2 separate regions of the Homo sapiens genome follow, and region 2 is linked to region 1. Evidence: promoter capture Hi-C in 16 types of primary human blood cells and fetal thymus (Javierre and others, 2016). All regions are on one chromosome and are shown on one strand. Each heading gives the region's core, a stretch centred on a gene start or on the middle of the fragment in contact. The rest is flanking DNA. Distances are from core to core; before and after follow the strand shown.

Region 1 (3,671 bases), core at 364-2,863:
AGGTAGGGAAAGGAAGTGACTAGCCCAAGATCACAAACATAATGTTTAGATCTTAGATCTATCTGCTTCAAAGCTGCCACTGCATTATACTAAGCCGGATCAAAGGGCATATGTTCCCTAGATAGGACCTGGGTCGTCCTCGGTTCGCCCTTTCCGTGACACTAGCGTCGGACGGCTCTCCGCATCACGGAGTAGGGATTGCTGCCCGCCACTCCCTGTGTGGGCATCCTACTCCCTATCTCTCCAGAGCACGGGGATCTGCCTCTCTTCCAAATCTGGGGGGCGAGGGAGGAGCGGAGGGTCGGCATCCAGCCAATCACATGGCAATATGCAAATAGACACGACCCTGCCTTCTTAGGATTGGCTAACCCGTCAGCGTTATTGTCCAAGTCTCTCCTCTCTAAACACTGAGCTATTCCGGGCGAGGGTTTGCGGCTCTGGAGACCTAGGGGGAAAAAAGTCCTTTGGATCTGGATCTCTGAGCCGTCCCGGTCGGGCACCCTCCTTCCCCGCCCCGGCCCCACCCCCACCCCCAAGGCTCGAAGCTCCCGCAACCTTCGCTGCCTAGGTGTCCCTTCTAGCTAGGGCCAAGCCTGGGAAGACGCCCCCTTCCCTTGGCTGGCCAGGCCCCTCTCCCTTCCCGCAGGACCCCTCCCGGTCCCGTATCTCCCGGGCTGCACATATTTTTTCATTCATGACCCCCAGGTCTGGAAGGGCCGGGCGCCTGGGTCCGGTTCCTTCCGCTCCTCCTTTTCCTTGCTTGGGGAGGACGAGGTAGAGAAAACCAGGGTCCTGACTCACTTTCCCCTTTATATTCCCTCTGTCGTCACTAAGGCCCACTCCTCAGGAGCCCAGAGAGAAGCCGGTGGGTTGGTAGGCAAAGCAGGGCGGGGAAGGGGCAGCTGTGTGGCCCTCTCTGCCTTGTGGCTTCCCACCTTGTTCCTGTCTTCTCCAAATCCAGCCCCATACCCTGAATCCAGGGCCCTCCTCACACATTCTTTTCCTCGGATATGTGTCTTCCCGAAAGATCTTTCCTACCCACTCGCCTGTTCCTTGGTGAGCTGGGTGAGCGCATAACTTGGCGGGGGGTGGGAGAGAACCCGGGAGGAGGAAACACAATAGAATGTTCCCGAGGGTTAGGAACGTCGAAGTGGAGTTCAGAAACGCCCCCGGCCGAGGCCAGAAAGCTGGGCTCGGAGAGCAGGTAGAGCCGGGAGGCTGCGGAACACCCCAGTCTGTCCTGGGTCCCGGGGTCCCCACCCTCCAGGGTCCAGAGCCGCGCCAGGACAGCCGGACTCACCACCACAGTCCGCCGACGTGCGCCGGGCACAGGAGCAGCAGCAGCAGCAGCCCGAGGCGGGAGGGTAAGGGCGGCAGCATCGTGACCGCCCTACGGCCGCCCGGGTGGGCAGGGGGCGAGGCTGCGGGGCGAACCGCGGCGCGCGAGGGCCCGGGCTTCAGTGCGAGCGCGGCGAGCGCAACGGCGGCGGCCGGGAGGCGAGGGATCCGGCGGCGGCGGGGGGGCCCATCCCGGGCGAGGAGGGCGCGGCGGAGGCGGAGAGCGGACGGGGCAGCCAGCGCCTGTGTCTCCTGCGGAGCTCGCTCGGGAGAAGAAATCAGAGCCGGGGGCGGAGGTGGGAGGGGAGCGGGGCCGAGGCGGGGGCGGGGGGCAGGGGGCCGGAGGGAGGTGGCAGTTGCGACAGTCAGGCAGCGGGACTCTCGGGAGCGAGCCGTGCGCCCCGGGGCGGCTGGCGCGGAGCGCAGCGGAGGGCGGGAGCGGGGTGCCGGGGCGGGGCCCCAGCGCGCTTCGGGCTGTGGGACCCGCCCGCTTCGCCCCCTCGCCTCGCCTCTCTCGGACTTGGAGCCCCCCGCCGCTCGCGGCCGCCTGGAGTCGGGGGCAAGGAAGGGCTGGGAAGAAGAGTAGAGAGGGGTGAGGGGGGAGAAAGAGGAGCTGAGGAATGGGGGACGGGCTGGAAGGGAGACGTTTGACAGGTTTGTTGACTGTAAAGAGAGAAAACTTCCCAGGAATGAGGGAGTTTGGGGCGGGGGGCGGTGCGGAGGGAGATGCTGGCGCGGAGGCAAGAGAGGAAGTTGGCCTGGGGCGCGGGGTGCTTCGGCGAGGGTTGTCAAACTGGACCGCCCGACAGGCGGATGCTGGAGGGGTCATCTCTTTCCGTGTCCCTGTTCGATGCCTCATGCCCCTTCGTCAGCCTCTCCTTGAAGAAGGGAGGAAGCCCTGGGCCTCCGCTCTCGCTCCCCCAGCCATCCCACCTCTCAAGCCCGCGTTCTAGGGCGGGGAGGTGGGGGAAATGAGAGGGCAAGAGTAGCCGCTCCAGGGCGTGCGCGCAAGCGCTGGCACTTGTAAGCGAGCGGGAGAATGGAGGTCGCAGACTTTCAAGAGATCGAGGGGTCAGAATTCGCTTTAGCCCGGCCTCGCGTGTCCAAGAGTCCCTGCCTCGAGTTCCTCCCCCAACCTGGCCCGGGTAGAAGGGGTGGGAGAGCCAGCTGCAGGTGAGATGGCGTTTATCAGATTTTCTAATGCCACAAAAATGTCTTTGATGCCCCTGGCCCCCTCCCCACGAGGGGGAGATCAAAGGCTCCGTGGGGAAGAGGGACAGCTCCATTCATCATGCCATTCGGCTGGCAGTGGGCAGCAGCCCCTGCCCCTCCCGTCCCCGACGTGCCCCGGGGTGCCAAGGGACAGGTGGTGTGGGACATTCTCCCTGCCATACCATCAAGAGCAACCATCAACCTTTAAAGCTGTCCTGGAGTGGGGAGGACAGATCGAGTCCCTATGGCAGAAACGTCAGGCGCCCAGAAGAAAGCTCCTGGTTGTTGGTAGAGAGGGGGACCTGAATGTGGGGACTGAGGTCGCTTCCAAGAGAGTGATGACTGAGGTCACTTCCAAACAACCTTGGTGAGCAGAGAGAGAAGACAAGATCCTGAGTCACCCAGAGAGGGGGGACAAGTAGATCAAGATGAGGCCAAGGGGCCAAGGGATGTGACCCCAGGGGAGGAGGCTGATGGGGGAAGGAATGAGCAGACAGAGGTGAGAGAACTGGAGAAGTGTGGACTTGCCGGCAAGCAAGCTCCATGTCAGGGCCCTGGTGTCCAGGCTGCATCAGCTCAATCCCTTGCACTGGATACAGAGAGTTCTGGTGAAAGGGCTAGGACACACTAAAGAAGGGGAAGGGGGCAGGGGGCAGTGGCAAGAGTCATAGAGAGAGGGTCTGGTCTAAGCACTGCCCTCTCCCATTTTAGCCTTTAACAGTATCCAAAGGCCACGCACAGCCCCTGCACCTAGTAACTTTGCACACAGTTGCTGTTTCTACGGGGCAATGCCAATCTGGACAGTTCCTAAAGGTCAATGCCAACTCTGGACACTACACATTCAAAGACATACCCAGTTTGGGTGCACACTCCAGCCATGTGGTACCAAATAGGCAGCTAGAGGGCTCTGGGGGTCCCTGGAGGCTACAGGTGGCCAGTGGCCAGCCTCCTGGGAGCCACTGTCTGGGTTCCGAACCCCCTGCCCAGCCCTGCTCCCACCCTGCTACTGTTATTGCAGATTATGAAATGCTCTCCCTATCCTGCATTCTTCTCCGAGGCAAGAATTTTAATGTATTTGTCTTTGTCATCAGGGGACCTGGGCTCTGAGACCGCCCTGCCTC
Region 2 (3,671 bases), core at 831-3,330, 250 kb before region 1:
AAAGTAGGCTCTTTAAGCTCATGATTCTTCATAGGGGGTACATACCCAATCGGGGAGATGGTTAGAATTATTTGGAAGCCTTTTCAAACTATTCATACCCTTACCAAAAAATTTTTGATATGCACATATCAAAAAACTATCCACCCCAAGATAGTTAAGGATTATTGCATAATATACTGTCGTTACTGATGAAAATCTGTGGTATGCCTTTTATGTGTTAGGTGGAAAAAGAGAACCACTATCTTAGGCAGTCTGACAGGGCCTGTTTCCTCCTGGCCTGTGAATTGCAGGCAGTCCTGAGGGCTAGGAGGAGATTTGATGTTTTTCTCTCCTTTCTCACCTTTGCCTACCTCATATATACTCCCAACCCACGCCTCCTTGCCCCTCCCCTTTCCTTTATTCTCTGCCAGACACCAGCCCGCCTCCAGCACGCAGAGTCTGCCTGCATTGTGAATGGTTGTAGTTGGGACACAGAGAGCCCTTGATGCAGCAAGTGCTTCTTGTGACATCAGCTCTGTGGCTTTAGGGGGAAGGCTGTGGCTCTGGGTCCCCAAGGGAGGGGGCTGTTTTTCTCTTCTTGATCCTTCACGTTGGTGCCCGTCTGACTTATAAACTTTAATGGCCAGTTTTAAAGGTTACTGCCATGGGGCACCTTTGTTGCCAGTTTTAGTTTTTTAATTTGGAAACTTTTTTTTTATCCTTTGTGGTCTTGGGAGGAAAGATTTGGGACCATTTGGGGCTGGGAATTGGTATTTGTGAGTGATGATGAGATAGCACAGCAGCATTCTGGTTCTGGCTCCAATAACCAGAATCCCTGGCATATTATCCAGTTGCCCAAATGAACCCCAAAATGAGAAGGAAAAGACTGGCATTGAGATGTGTAGTCTTAGGCAGCATCAGTCAAGGATGTAGAGGGTTGGGGGCTTGTTGTTCTGTCTGAGAATGGTAACCATAGTTTAGGTGCTGGGGCACTGGAAAAAGAAAGAGATATCTCACTCTTATTCTAAGTCTCTTAACTCTTCTTTCATCTCTAGTCCCAATCCTTTGTTCTGAATATAGATGTCATTGACAGTGGTTAAGTTTAATTGGGATGGGAACAAGGGTTCAGATGTAGAATACACAGGGGAATGTGGCCCATGGTGGTTTCCCCACTGTAGCACAGGTATAGAACTAACAGAGTAAGCTTCACTGAGTCTTTTTGCCATTAACTCTTATACCTTAGAAAAACCTTTTTTTTTTTCCACCCAGGATAACTTCACAAAGCCTCATATGCCAAAAAAGGGTCATTGCCCATCTCAGTAATCTGTATCTCTAGGGGGAAAACAGTATTATAGAATAATACTCAAATAATAGCATCTTGGAATCAGAAGGGATTATTTATAGCACTCTCATAAAACTATCTTATTCAGGTCCTCTGTCTGAAACTAAGAATATGTGGAACTTAAAATGTATTTGGTAAGTGCTAGAAAAGAATTTTTAGAAGTTTAGTTCTGAGCGTGCCTCCTGCCTGGGTACTTTTTTGTGGATGACTAGAGTAGTAACACAAATAAATGGACAGATAATCTAACAAATAGACCCTAGGAAAAGGCAAACACATGAATCCAAGGGTGCTTAGATGCTTGCTCAAAGACATAGGCTCTTTACTTAACTGTTGGCTGGTGTCCTTGATAGCCAAAACCTATCTTTCACTCTCTAGCATTTGGATGGATTAGACTGAACTCAGGATTCAACTCTGGATGAACTTAGAGAATTCAGGAAAGGAGGCTGCTGTGGAAGGACGGACACTCAGCTCTTCAAGATGTGTGGAAGGAGGGCAGAGCCTTCTGACAGTTTTGATACTGTTCACAAGGCATATAATACAGGGTCTTGGATTCAGATCTCACTCCTGGCTGTTCTTCCTGGGCTGGACAAAGCTAGATTTTCTTCTTGTTCCCTGTGTTACAGGGCAGGGGAGGAGGTGTGGGGGTTGGCTCGGGGCTGGGCCACAATTAGTGACCTGGAAGCTGGGCTGGGCACCCAGAAGCTATAAATAGCAGTCATGGCGCAGTCGCTGAGCGGACTCGAAGCCCAGCCAGACTAGCCGCGTTTCAAGTGGTCTGGGTGGGATTTTTTTTTTTTCTCTGTTAACCATTTGTACATCTGGTTTCCTAGTGTTGGTGGGGCAAGGGAGGAGGGTGGGGCTGTAAGCAGAACAAGAAGTTCGTATGTGGAGTAACTTCTTGGTTAGTTTTGCCATATGTATATCTTGGAGCTTCTAGAGCCCTTAGAACCAGTATGGACTCTGGGAGTGAGAATTGTGGCCCTTAGAGGGAGATTAGGCCCCAGAGCAGGGCATGTGGTATGGGAAATACCTGCAGGGCACATGCCACTAATTTAAGGTATGGTGGATGTTCCTGAAGACAGAGAGAGAAGTGGGGTCCATATGGAGCAACTAAGATTATTTGGGAGCAGCCTGGGGCTTCTTATTTCTCCTTACTCTGTGAAACAGTTCCTCTGTCCCCACGATGCCAGTCTGCTTACCTTCTTCCTGATAGACATTGCTGTTTCTTGCTTCTCTGCATTTGTTCCTGTCATCTGCCCTGGGTTTTGAAATCAGAATACTTTGATTTGAATTCCAGTTCTTCCACTTTTTTGATTTGTCACCTGGGCATATTATTATGCTCCCTGGGGTTCATCTGTCAGACGAGCAATTTTGATCAGATACACCCTGAGGTTCCTTCTAGCTTTTGTAAACCATAAATTGGTTTCAATCAATCGATTTCTATTTTTCCTCTTCAGGAAGAAAATTTCACTTCTGCTGGGAAGCCCTCCCTGAATGATCAGTTCAGTTATCTTCCCCTGATTTGACAGATCATTAGCAGTTATATAGCTCATTTATCCTCCTTTCTCTTGCATATATCATATGTTTCTTTGCAGTTATTTTCTTGCTGTTTTCACATACTTACCTTTTTTCTCTTCAAGTAGATTAGAAGCTTGTTGAAGCAGGACACCATATCTTCTATATCGCTCTCTCAGCACTCATTATCAATGTTGTGGGCACCATTGAAGCCCACTCAAGTGTACTAGAAGGCAGGTAGGCCGACTTGGAGTAGAATGGGAAATAGGAAAAAATGAATATTTTTTCAGCAAATGCCAGTTTGAGAGGTGTTTTTGTTAGAGTAAAATGGAAAACAGCAAATGAGAACACAGGTTAGAAATTTCATGCATTTTACCAAACTGTGGGATTCCAGTTCACTGCTTTGCTGACTGTCTGTACTTTTTCTTTTCTCATCTTCTCTTGAAGATGAGCACAGTCTGAATCTGTGGGTTTTTTGGGCACTGTTTAATAACATTGAGTATGGCGCTACATTTTGCATAATGGTAAAAGGGCTTTCTGTTCCAAGCATAGGCTCTTTGTATTAGGTTTCAATAATCCATCTGTTGTAGGCCTCCTTTATGCCTGAAGATGAGGATATAACACTTGTAGATATCTGTGAAAATGTATATGGCCTTGTTTTCTCTGAGTCCAAGGAGAGCAGTGTCTCTTTTGCTTGGCTTTCTGTCACAGGGCTTTGATCTCCCGTCCCTTGTCTCATCCTTTCTCCTACTTTGAGCCCACTGGACCAGGCTAAACAATTCCTCCCCTCTTGGGTGTTTACACTCTCCCAGTGTTAGCAGAAGGTTATCATGTC

What was found. Contacts are between HindIII fragments. The CHiCAGO score rates a contact against its expected background, and 5 or more counts as called.
Region 2: a contact is called between a fragment that was not itself captured here and the fragment with the promoter of WNT6 in region 1, in 1 of 17 cell types (naive B cells). The highest score is 5.1, in naive B cells.

Annotation. Positions count from the first base shown.
Region 1 is chr2:218,857,747-218,861,417 of GRCh38, reverse strand. WNT6 (Wnt family member 6) reads right to left here and starts at 1,613. Exons shown (of 4, transcript NM_006522.4): 1 at 1,301-1,613. The coding sequence starts at 1,380. The HindIII fragment of the contact is 26,174 bases long and covers 1-3,671 here.
Region 2 is chr2:219,106,383-219,110,053 of GRCh38, reverse strand. The region is part of intron 5 of NHEJ1 (non-homologous end joining factor 1); the gene reads left to right. Among named protein-coding and RNA genes, the nearest start is that of IHH, 47 kb to the right of the region's middle. The HindIII fragment of the contact is 1,789 bases long and covers 1,186-2,974 here.